3 separate regions of the Homo sapiens genome follow, and all the other regions are linked to region 3. The links are contacts of gene promoters, found by promoter capture Hi-C in human tissues and cell types (Jung and others, 2019). All regions are on one chromosome and are shown on one strand. The core of a region is centred on a gene start or on the middle of the fragment in contact, and the rest is flanking DNA. Distances in the headings are between cores, read along the strand shown.

Evidence for each region. The method cuts DNA at HindIII sites, captures the fragments that hold promoters and counts their contacts. A contact is called where the count stands out against the background at its distance.
Region 1: a contact is called between the fragment with the promoter of IL12RB1 here and the fragment with the promoter of FCHO1 in region 3, in 1 of the 25 tissues and cell types used here (H1 embryonic stem cells).
Region 2: the fragment with the promoter of PLVAP here is called in contact with the fragment with the promoter of FCHO1 in region 3 in 2 of the 25 tissues and cell types used here (spleen and stomach).

The regions. Positions count from the first base shown.
Region 1 is chr19:18,085,606-18,088,305 of GRCh38, reverse strand. IL12RB1 (interleukin 12 receptor subunit beta 1) reads left to right here and starts at 1,372. Exons shown (of 17, transcript NM_005535.3): 1 at 1,372-1,546. The coding sequence starts at 1,483. RefSeq lists enhancers at 1,041-1,100, 1,111-1,460. The HindIII fragment of the contact is 62,137 bases long and covers 1-2,700 here.
Region 2 is chr19:17,375,904-17,378,603 of GRCh38, reverse strand. PLVAP (plasmalemma vesicle associated protein) reads left to right here and starts at 1,262. Exons shown (of 6, transcript NM_031310.3): 1 at 1,262-1,684. The coding sequence starts at 1,316. The HindIII fragment of the contact is 34,336 bases long and covers 1-2,700 here.
Region 3 is chr19:17,750,121-17,752,820 of GRCh38, reverse strand. FCHO1 (FCH and mu domain containing endocytic adaptor 1) reads right to left here and starts at 1,344. Exons shown (of 29, transcript NM_015122.3): 1 at 1,244-1,344. It overlaps FCHO1-AS1 (FCHO1 antisense RNA 1), which reads left to right and starts at 1,424. Exons shown (of 5, transcript XR_007067152.1): 1 at 1,424-1,605; 2 at 2,071-2,163. The HindIII fragment of the contact is 16,973 bases long and covers 1-2,700 here.

The DNA of each region.
Region 1 (2,700 bases), core at 123-2,622, 340 kb before region 3:
CAAGCGATTCTCCTGCCTCAGCCTCCTCAGTAGCTGGGATTACAGGTGCCTGCCACCACACCCGGTTAATTTTTGTATTTTCAGTAGAGACAGGGTTTCACCATTTTGGTCAGGCTGGTCTCAAACTCCTGACCTCGTGATCCACCTGCCTTGGCCTCCCAAAGTACTGGGATTACAGGCGTGAGCCACCGCGCCTGGCCTAATTCTTTATTTTTTATAGAGATGGGGTCTTGCTATGTTGTTTAGGTAGACCCAAACTCCTGGGGTCAAGTGATCCTCCCACCTCGACCTCTCAAAGTGCTGGGATTAGAGGGGTGAGCCCAGGTGCACAAGGCTGGAGCTTGGCATGTGGGGAGGTGGGCATTGTGGAGGGCCAGCATGCTGCAAGCTCTTTGTAACAATTTGTTGGAAGGATGAAATTAGGCCATCCAAGAACACTGCCCTCCTTCAGCTCTTGAGTCTCAGATTCAGAAGCTGGCGAGATGGCCCGGTGCGGTGGCTCACGCCTGTGATCCCAGAATTTTGGTAGGCCAAGGCGGACGGATCATTTGAACCCGGGAGTTTGAGACCAGCCTGGGCAACATGGCAAAACCCCCTCTCTTAAAAAAAAAAAAATGCAAAAATTAGCTGGGCGTGGTGGTGCATGCCTGTAGTCCCAGTTCCTGGGGAGGCTGAGGTAGGAGGATGGCCTGAGCCTGGGGAGGTTGATGTTGCAGTGAGCCGTGATTGCACCACTGCACTACAGCTGGGCCACAGATCAAGACCCTATCTCAAAAGAAGAAAAAAAGAATTTGGCAGCCAGGCACGGTAGCTCACGCCTGTCATCCCAGCACTTTGGGAGGCTGAGGTGGGTGGATCACTTAGGGTTAGGAGTTCGAGACCAGCCTGGCCAGCATGGTGAAACCCTGTCTCTACTAAAAATACAAAAATTAGCTCGATGTTGTGGCAGTTGCCTGTAATTCCAGCTACTCGGGAGGCTGAGGCAGGAGAATTGCTTGAACCCGGGAGGCAGAAGTTGCAGTGAGTGGAGATCATGCCACCACACTCCAGCCCGGGCGACAGAGCAGGGCTCCATCTCAAAAAAAAAAAAAAAAATTGGCTAGAGAGGGCCAGAGACCTGGCCAAGTGCATGGAACCACAGGTGGCCCATGGGCCCATGGGGCTGGCATCTGGGTGTTCAGTTCAGGTCTGGGGCCAGCAGGGCAGAACCCCCTAGAACCCTGACTTGCTCCAAAGTCAGACTTGCTCCAGAGTCTGTGGCCGCCACCATCACCACCACCACGGAGCTGACTTCCTGGGTTTCTCTTTCACTTTGACTTGCCTTAGGGATGGGCTGTGACACTTTACTTTTTTTCTTTTTTCTTTTTTTTCAGTCTTTTCTCCTTGCTCAGCTTCAATGTGTTCCGGAGTGGGGACGGGGTGGCTGAACCTCGCAGGTGGCAGAGAGGCTCCCCTGGGGCTGTGGGGCTCTACGTGGATCCGATGGAGCCGCTGGTGACCTGGGTGGTCCCCCTCCTCTTCCTCTTCCTGCTGTCCAGGCAGGGCGGTGAGTCCCCTGACCCTGGCATGGCGGCTCCTCTTGCTGGGTGGAGGCACGTGTATGTGTGGAGAGCTGTGGGCCTGCTGTGTGGGTTGGTTTCATCTCTCTGTGCCTCAGTCTTTCCTGCTGTCAAATGGGAGATGGGCAGTCATGGCTTCTGGGATCGAACTTAGACATCTTTCCTCTGGTCTAGATTTTCTCTTCTGTGAAATGCACTAAATTTTTTCCACCTCCCGGAGTTCAATGAGAAAAAAAACTAAGGAAGGAATAAAAAGCAAGTATGTATCTAATAGGTATACATAGTATAGTATCTTATGTATGTAGTTTACAATAGATAGACATACATAATATAATGTATACAGTCATTTCCATATTTACGGGGCAATGGTTCCAGGACCCTCTGCAGATACCAAAATCCAAAGATGCTCAAGTTCCTGATATAAAATGGTAAAGTATTTGCATATAACCTATGCACATCCTTCCGTATACTTTACTTATTTATTTATTTATTTATTTATTTATTTATTTATTTATTTATTTACTGAGGTAGGGTCTCACTCTGTGTCCCAGGCTGGAGTGCAGTGGCCTAATCATAACTCATTGCAGCCTTGACCACCTGGGCTCAAGTGATCCTCCTGCCTTAGCCCCTTGAGTAGCTGGGACTGCAGGTGCACACTACCATGCCTGGTTAATTTTTTTGGTGTATACTTTTTACAGAGACAGCGTCTCGCTGTGTTGCCCAGGCTGGTCTCGAACTCCTGGGCTCAAATGATCCACTCACCTTGGCCTCCCAAAGTGCTCAGATTACAGGCATGAGCCACCATGCCCAGCCTTCCCATATACTTTTAATAATCTCAGGCCCTGCACGGTGACTCACTCCTGAAAATCCAGCACTATGGGAGGCCAAGATGGGTGGATCACTTGAGGTCAGGAGTTCGAGACCAGCCTGGCTAACATGGTGAAACCCCATCTCTACTAAAAATGCAAAAATTAGCCAGGCTTGATGATGGGCACCTGTACTCCCAGCTACTTAGGAGCTGAGGTGGGAGGATCGCTTGAACCCAGGAGGCAGAGGTTGCAGTGAGCCGAGATTGCAGCACTGCATTCCAGCCTGTGTGGCAGAGCAAGACTCTATCTCAATAATAATAATAATAAATAAA
Region 2 (2,700 bases), core at 13-2,512, 370 kb after region 3:
TTACAGGTGTGAGCCACTATGCCCGGCCGCCCATGGGGTTTTGAGTGTCGGGGGAGGAATCTCAGTCCCACGTATCCACCACTTGTCATTCACCATCTCACGGAGCCCCCAGCAGTGCCTCCAGCAGGAAATGATCCTAATCATAACAACAGCCACAGAGTGACGAGGCACTGGGTATACCCCGTCTCACAAAGGGGAAAAGGGAGGCACAGACATGCGAGGCCTCTTGCCCGAGCTCTCCCGGGACAAAGCCAGCTCTTCCCCGCTCCAAGTTCATTATTCCTTGTGCTGCAGTTTCCTGGAGCATTTACTGAGCATCTAAGTGAACAGGGCACTGGGGGCAATGACAGAGCTTGGGGAGCCAGCGCCACCGCCATCCATGGCTCAGCCCTCCGTGACGCCCTCCTATGCAATTACTAATCACCTACTGCTTCTCCATCCCTAGGCTAGCTAAGAGTTTCACACTTTTTCTGTTTTTTTTTTTTTTTGAAACAGAGTCTTGCTCTATACCCCAGGCTGGAGTGCAATGGCACGATCTCTGCTCACCGCAACCTCCGACTCCTGGGTTCAAGCGATTCTCCTGCCTCAGCCTCCTGGGTAGCTGGAATTACAGGCGAGCACCACCACACCTGGCTAAGTTTTGTATTTTTAGTAGAGACGGGGGGTTTCACCACGGTGACCGGGTTGGTCTCAAACTTCTGACCTCAGGTGATCCGTCCGCCTCAGCCTCCCAAAGTGCTGGGATTATAGGCGTGAGCCACCGTGCCTGGCACATTTCCCACGTTTTGTGGCACTTAATCAGCACCGCCCTGGTGAAGTGGGTGCACGTCTGTAGCCAGCCTGTCTTGAGGTAAGTCAAGTTCGCTGAACTAACAGCGTGAGACCCCGAGGCAACCCCTTCTCCTCCCTGTGCCTCAGTTTCCTCCGCCACACAAGGGAGACAGCAACAGACCTGGCATGATTCAGCGACCTAATCACAGCAGGTACTGAGAACAGCACCCGCCAGCAAGTAAAGGCGAACGCGAGGCTCGAAGAGGCCAGGAATGCCTGACCAGCCAGCCAGCGCCCCACCCAGCATTAATCAGAGGGGTCCAGCCGGTGCCCTGGCTCTGGGCCCCCAGCCCCACCCCCGCCTTCTCACAGCCAGAGTGGGAGTGTTGTGATAACCCGCAGCCCCCGTTTCCTCCGGGCCAGGAAGGAGCCAGGCAGAGGAAGTATTAAGAGGAGTAATATAAGCACTCCCCCCTGCGAGGCGGGGGCCAGAGCAGGCCTGGTGGTGAGCAGGGACGGTGCACCGGACGGCGGGATCGAGCAAATGGGTCTGGCCATGGAGCACGGAGGGTCCTACGCTCGGGCGGGGGGCAGCTCTCGGGGCTGCTGGTATTACCTGCGCTACTTCTTCCTCTTCGTCTCCCTCATCCAATTCCTCATCATCCTGGGGCTCGTGCTCTTCATGGTCTATGGCAACGTGCACGTGAGCACAGAGTCCAACCTGCAGGCCACCGAGCGCCGAGCCGAGGGCCTATACAGTCAGCTCCTAGGGCTCACGGCCTCCCAGTCCAACTTGACCAAGGAGCTCAACTTCACCACCCGCGCCAAGGATGCCATCATGCAGATGTGGCTGAATGCTCGCCGCGACCTGGACCGCATCAATGCCAGCTTCCGCCAGTGCCAGGGTGACCGGGTAAGGCTGTGGGCAGGACACTCGCCCTGGGGACCCTGAGCAAGCCCCCTCACCTCTCTGAGCCTGAGTTTCCTCATCCAAGAGAGGGGGACGATCACAGGACCAATGCTCTCTTTTCTTATGAGACAGAGTCTCGCTCCGTCTCCCAGGCTGGAGTGCAGTGGTGCAATCTCGGCTCACTGCAACCTCTGCCTCCTGGGTTGGAGTGATTCTCCTGCCTCAGCCTCCCGAGTAGCTGGGATTACAGGCATGTGCCATCATAACCGGCTCATTTTTGTATTTTTAGTAGAGATGGGGTTTCACCATGTTGGCCAGGCTGGTCTCAAACTCCTGACCTCAAGTGATACGCCTGCCTTGGCCTCCCAAATTGTTGGGATTACAAGCGTGAGCCACTGCACCCGGCCGATAGATTTTTTTTTTTTCCTTAAGAGACAGGGTCTCCATGTGTATCCTGGGCTGGATGGAGTGCAATTGCTATCACAGCTCACTGCAACCTCAATCTCCTGGACTCAAGTGATCCTCTTGCCTCAGCCTCCTGAGTAGCTGGGACTACAGGCGTGCACCACCACACCCAGCTAATATGTTTATATTTAGCAGAGATGAGGTCTCACTATGTTGCCCAGGCTAGTCTCGAACTCCTGGGCTCAAGCAATCCTCTCACCCCAGCCTCCCAAACTGCTGGGATTACAGGTGTGGGGCACTGCGTCCAGCTAAATTTTTTTTATTTCTTTTCTTTTTTTTGGAGGCAGGGTCTCACTCTGTCACCCAGGCTGGAGCACAGTGATGTGAGCATAGCTCACTGAAGCCTTGACATCCTGGGCTCCAGCAATCCTCCTGCCTCAGCCTTTTGAGTAGCTGGCACTATGGACATGCCACTATGCCCAGGTCATTTTTTATTTTTAGTAGACGTGGGGTCTCGCTATGTTGATCAGGCTGGTCTTGAACTCCTGGGCTCAAACAATCCTCCCTCCTGGACCTCCCAAAGTGCTGAGATTACAGGTGGGCACCACCACACC
Region 3 (2,700 bases), core at 95-2,594:
TCAAGTGATCCTCCCATCTCAGCCACCCGAGTAGCTGGGACTACATGTCTAACTAATTAAAAATAAATTTTTTTTTTTTTTTTTGTAGAGACTAGGTCTCACTAGTGTGGCCCAGGCCAGTCTCGAACTCCTGAGCTCAAGCCATCCTCCTGCCTGGGACCCCCAAAGTGCTGGGATTACAGCCATGAGCCACAACCCCTGGCCTTAATTTTTGTATTAATTTTTGTATTAATGTTAAACCAAGTAAAATTAAATACAATTGGCTGGGCGCAGTGGCTCACGCCTGTAATCCCAGCACTTTGGGAGGCCGAGGTGGGTGGATCACTTGAGGTCAGGAGTTCGAGACCTGCCTGGCCAACATGGTGAAACCCCATCTCTACCAAAAAATATAAAAATCAGCAGGGCGTGGTGGCACACACCTGTAGTCCCAGCTACTTGGGAGGATGAGGCAGGAGAATCACTTGAACCTGGGAGGCGGAGGTTGTAGTGAGCCAAGATTGCCCCACTGCACTCCAACCTGGTTGAAAGAGTGAGATTCTGTCTTAAAAAAATAATAATTAAATACATACATACATACATACATACATACATACAATTATATGCCCAGCTCCTCAGCTGTGCCAGCCTCTCTTCCAAGGCTCAGTAGCTACATGGGGCTGATGGCTGCTGTATTGGATGGCCAACATTGTTCTAGAAGATCCCAGGAACCAAGGAGCCCAAGTTCCCCAGAAACCAAGAATCTCACTACTGTTTTCACAGTTTCAATTAGATTGCCTCACCCCACCTCTGGCAGACAGATACACATGGAGCACCAGTATGTGTGCGACCCTGTACCCAACTATTCACACGCATCTGCTCATCCAATCTTCATGCCATGCCCTCAGAGGCAACCCCAACTTTATGAAGGAAACCGAGGCACAGAGAGATCAATCATTGGTCCCGGCTGACTGTGATTTTGCCCCTGGTCTGTCTGCCAATGACCTCCTGTTTGAAACCATCACGCGTGGCTCTCTGGGTTTCCAAGCTCCCCTTGCCGCCCCCCTAACCCAAACCACCACTCACAGCTGGAATGGGGGACGGGGGGCAGGGCAACGGGTGGCCCCATGCAGGCTTTGGCCAGCCCAGGAAGTGACACCTGCTACTTCTCCTGAAACCCAGGCTCCGGGCAGGGGGGCCTCCCCTCTGTTCCTGAGGGGGGCCAAGGCGAGATGATGGGTATCTACTGGCCAGGGCTCAAACTCACCGGACAGGGTAGCGAGTGGGATGGGGCCCCTGTCTGACGGGGCAGGCGCCAGGAGACAGCCACGAGGCCACTTCCGTCAGCACCAAGTTGGAGGCTTGTGTGCATGGGTTGGGGGGGGGACAGGAAGCTCACCCCGCCCCGCCTACCATCCAACCGCCACCTTTCCTCCCCCGCCCGATCAGCACCCATGGGACCTCCCTGGAACCACACAGGCCATGGGTGAGTAAACAAGAGGCGCTTGAACCTGGAGCCCCCCGGCCTGAACCTGGAGCTGTTCTTACCGAACAAATATTAATCATGGCAATTGGGAAATAACTGAGCACCAACCCTGGCCCAGGCATTCAACATCTTGCCATCCTGAGGTAGGCCGATACCCACTTCACAGACTGGGCAAACTGAGGCTCAGAGAGGGAAATGCGCTCAGAAAGGGGAAGACATGGCCAGGCGCGGTGGCTCACGCCTGTAATCCCAGCACTTTGAGAGGCCAAGGTGGGTGGATCACGAGGTCAAGAGGTTGACACTATCCTGGCCAACACGGTGAAACCCCGTCTCTACTAAAAATACAAAAATTAGCTGGGCGTGGTGGCCCATGCCTGTAGTCCCAGCTACTCAGGAGGCTGAGGCAGGAGAATCACTTGAACCCGGGAGGTGGAGGTTGCAGTGAGCCAGAGGTTGCAGTGAGCCGAGATTGCGCCACTGCACTCCAGCCTGGCGACAGAGCGAGACTCCATCTCAAAAAAAAAAAAAAAAGAAAAGAAAGGGGAAGACATTTTTGCATTCATGAGCGCTTTCCTTCACTACAAAAGAAATTTAAAATTATATTTTAGGTGGTGGCTGATGCCTGGAATCCCAGCACTTTGGGAGGCCGAGGCAGGTGGATTGCTTGAGCCCAGGAGTGCGAGAACAGCCTGGGCAACATGGTAAAACCCCGTCTCTACTAAAAATACAAAAGTTAGCTGGGTGGGGTGGCATATGCCTGTAATCCCAGCTACTCGGGAGGCTGAGGCAGGAGAATCGCTTGAACCCAGGAGATGGAGGTTGCAGTGAGCGGAGATCGAGCCACTGCACTCCAGCCTGGGTGACAGAGAGAGACTCTGTCTCAAAAACAAAACAAAACAAAACTGTATTTTACAACTACATTGACATAAAGACAAATATATTAATATTATACACAAAAATGTTTCCTTCAACCCAAGAGTTCATTTTTTTCCCTTTGGATTTTAAAAGAAGTGAAAACATCAACCTAGGGACCCCTAAAAGCACTGTGAGCCTGAGACACTGGGCATTTTGGGTCTGATGGAGAAGTCAGCCCTGCTAGAACCCAAGTCTCCCAGCCTGTACAGTACCAGCACAAAGCCCAGAGATGGCCGGAGACTTGCCCAAGGTTACACAGCACATTGCCAGCTGACTCAGAGGTCCCCATCCTGCCTTCCCGGCACCAAGTCTTGCAAACCTGG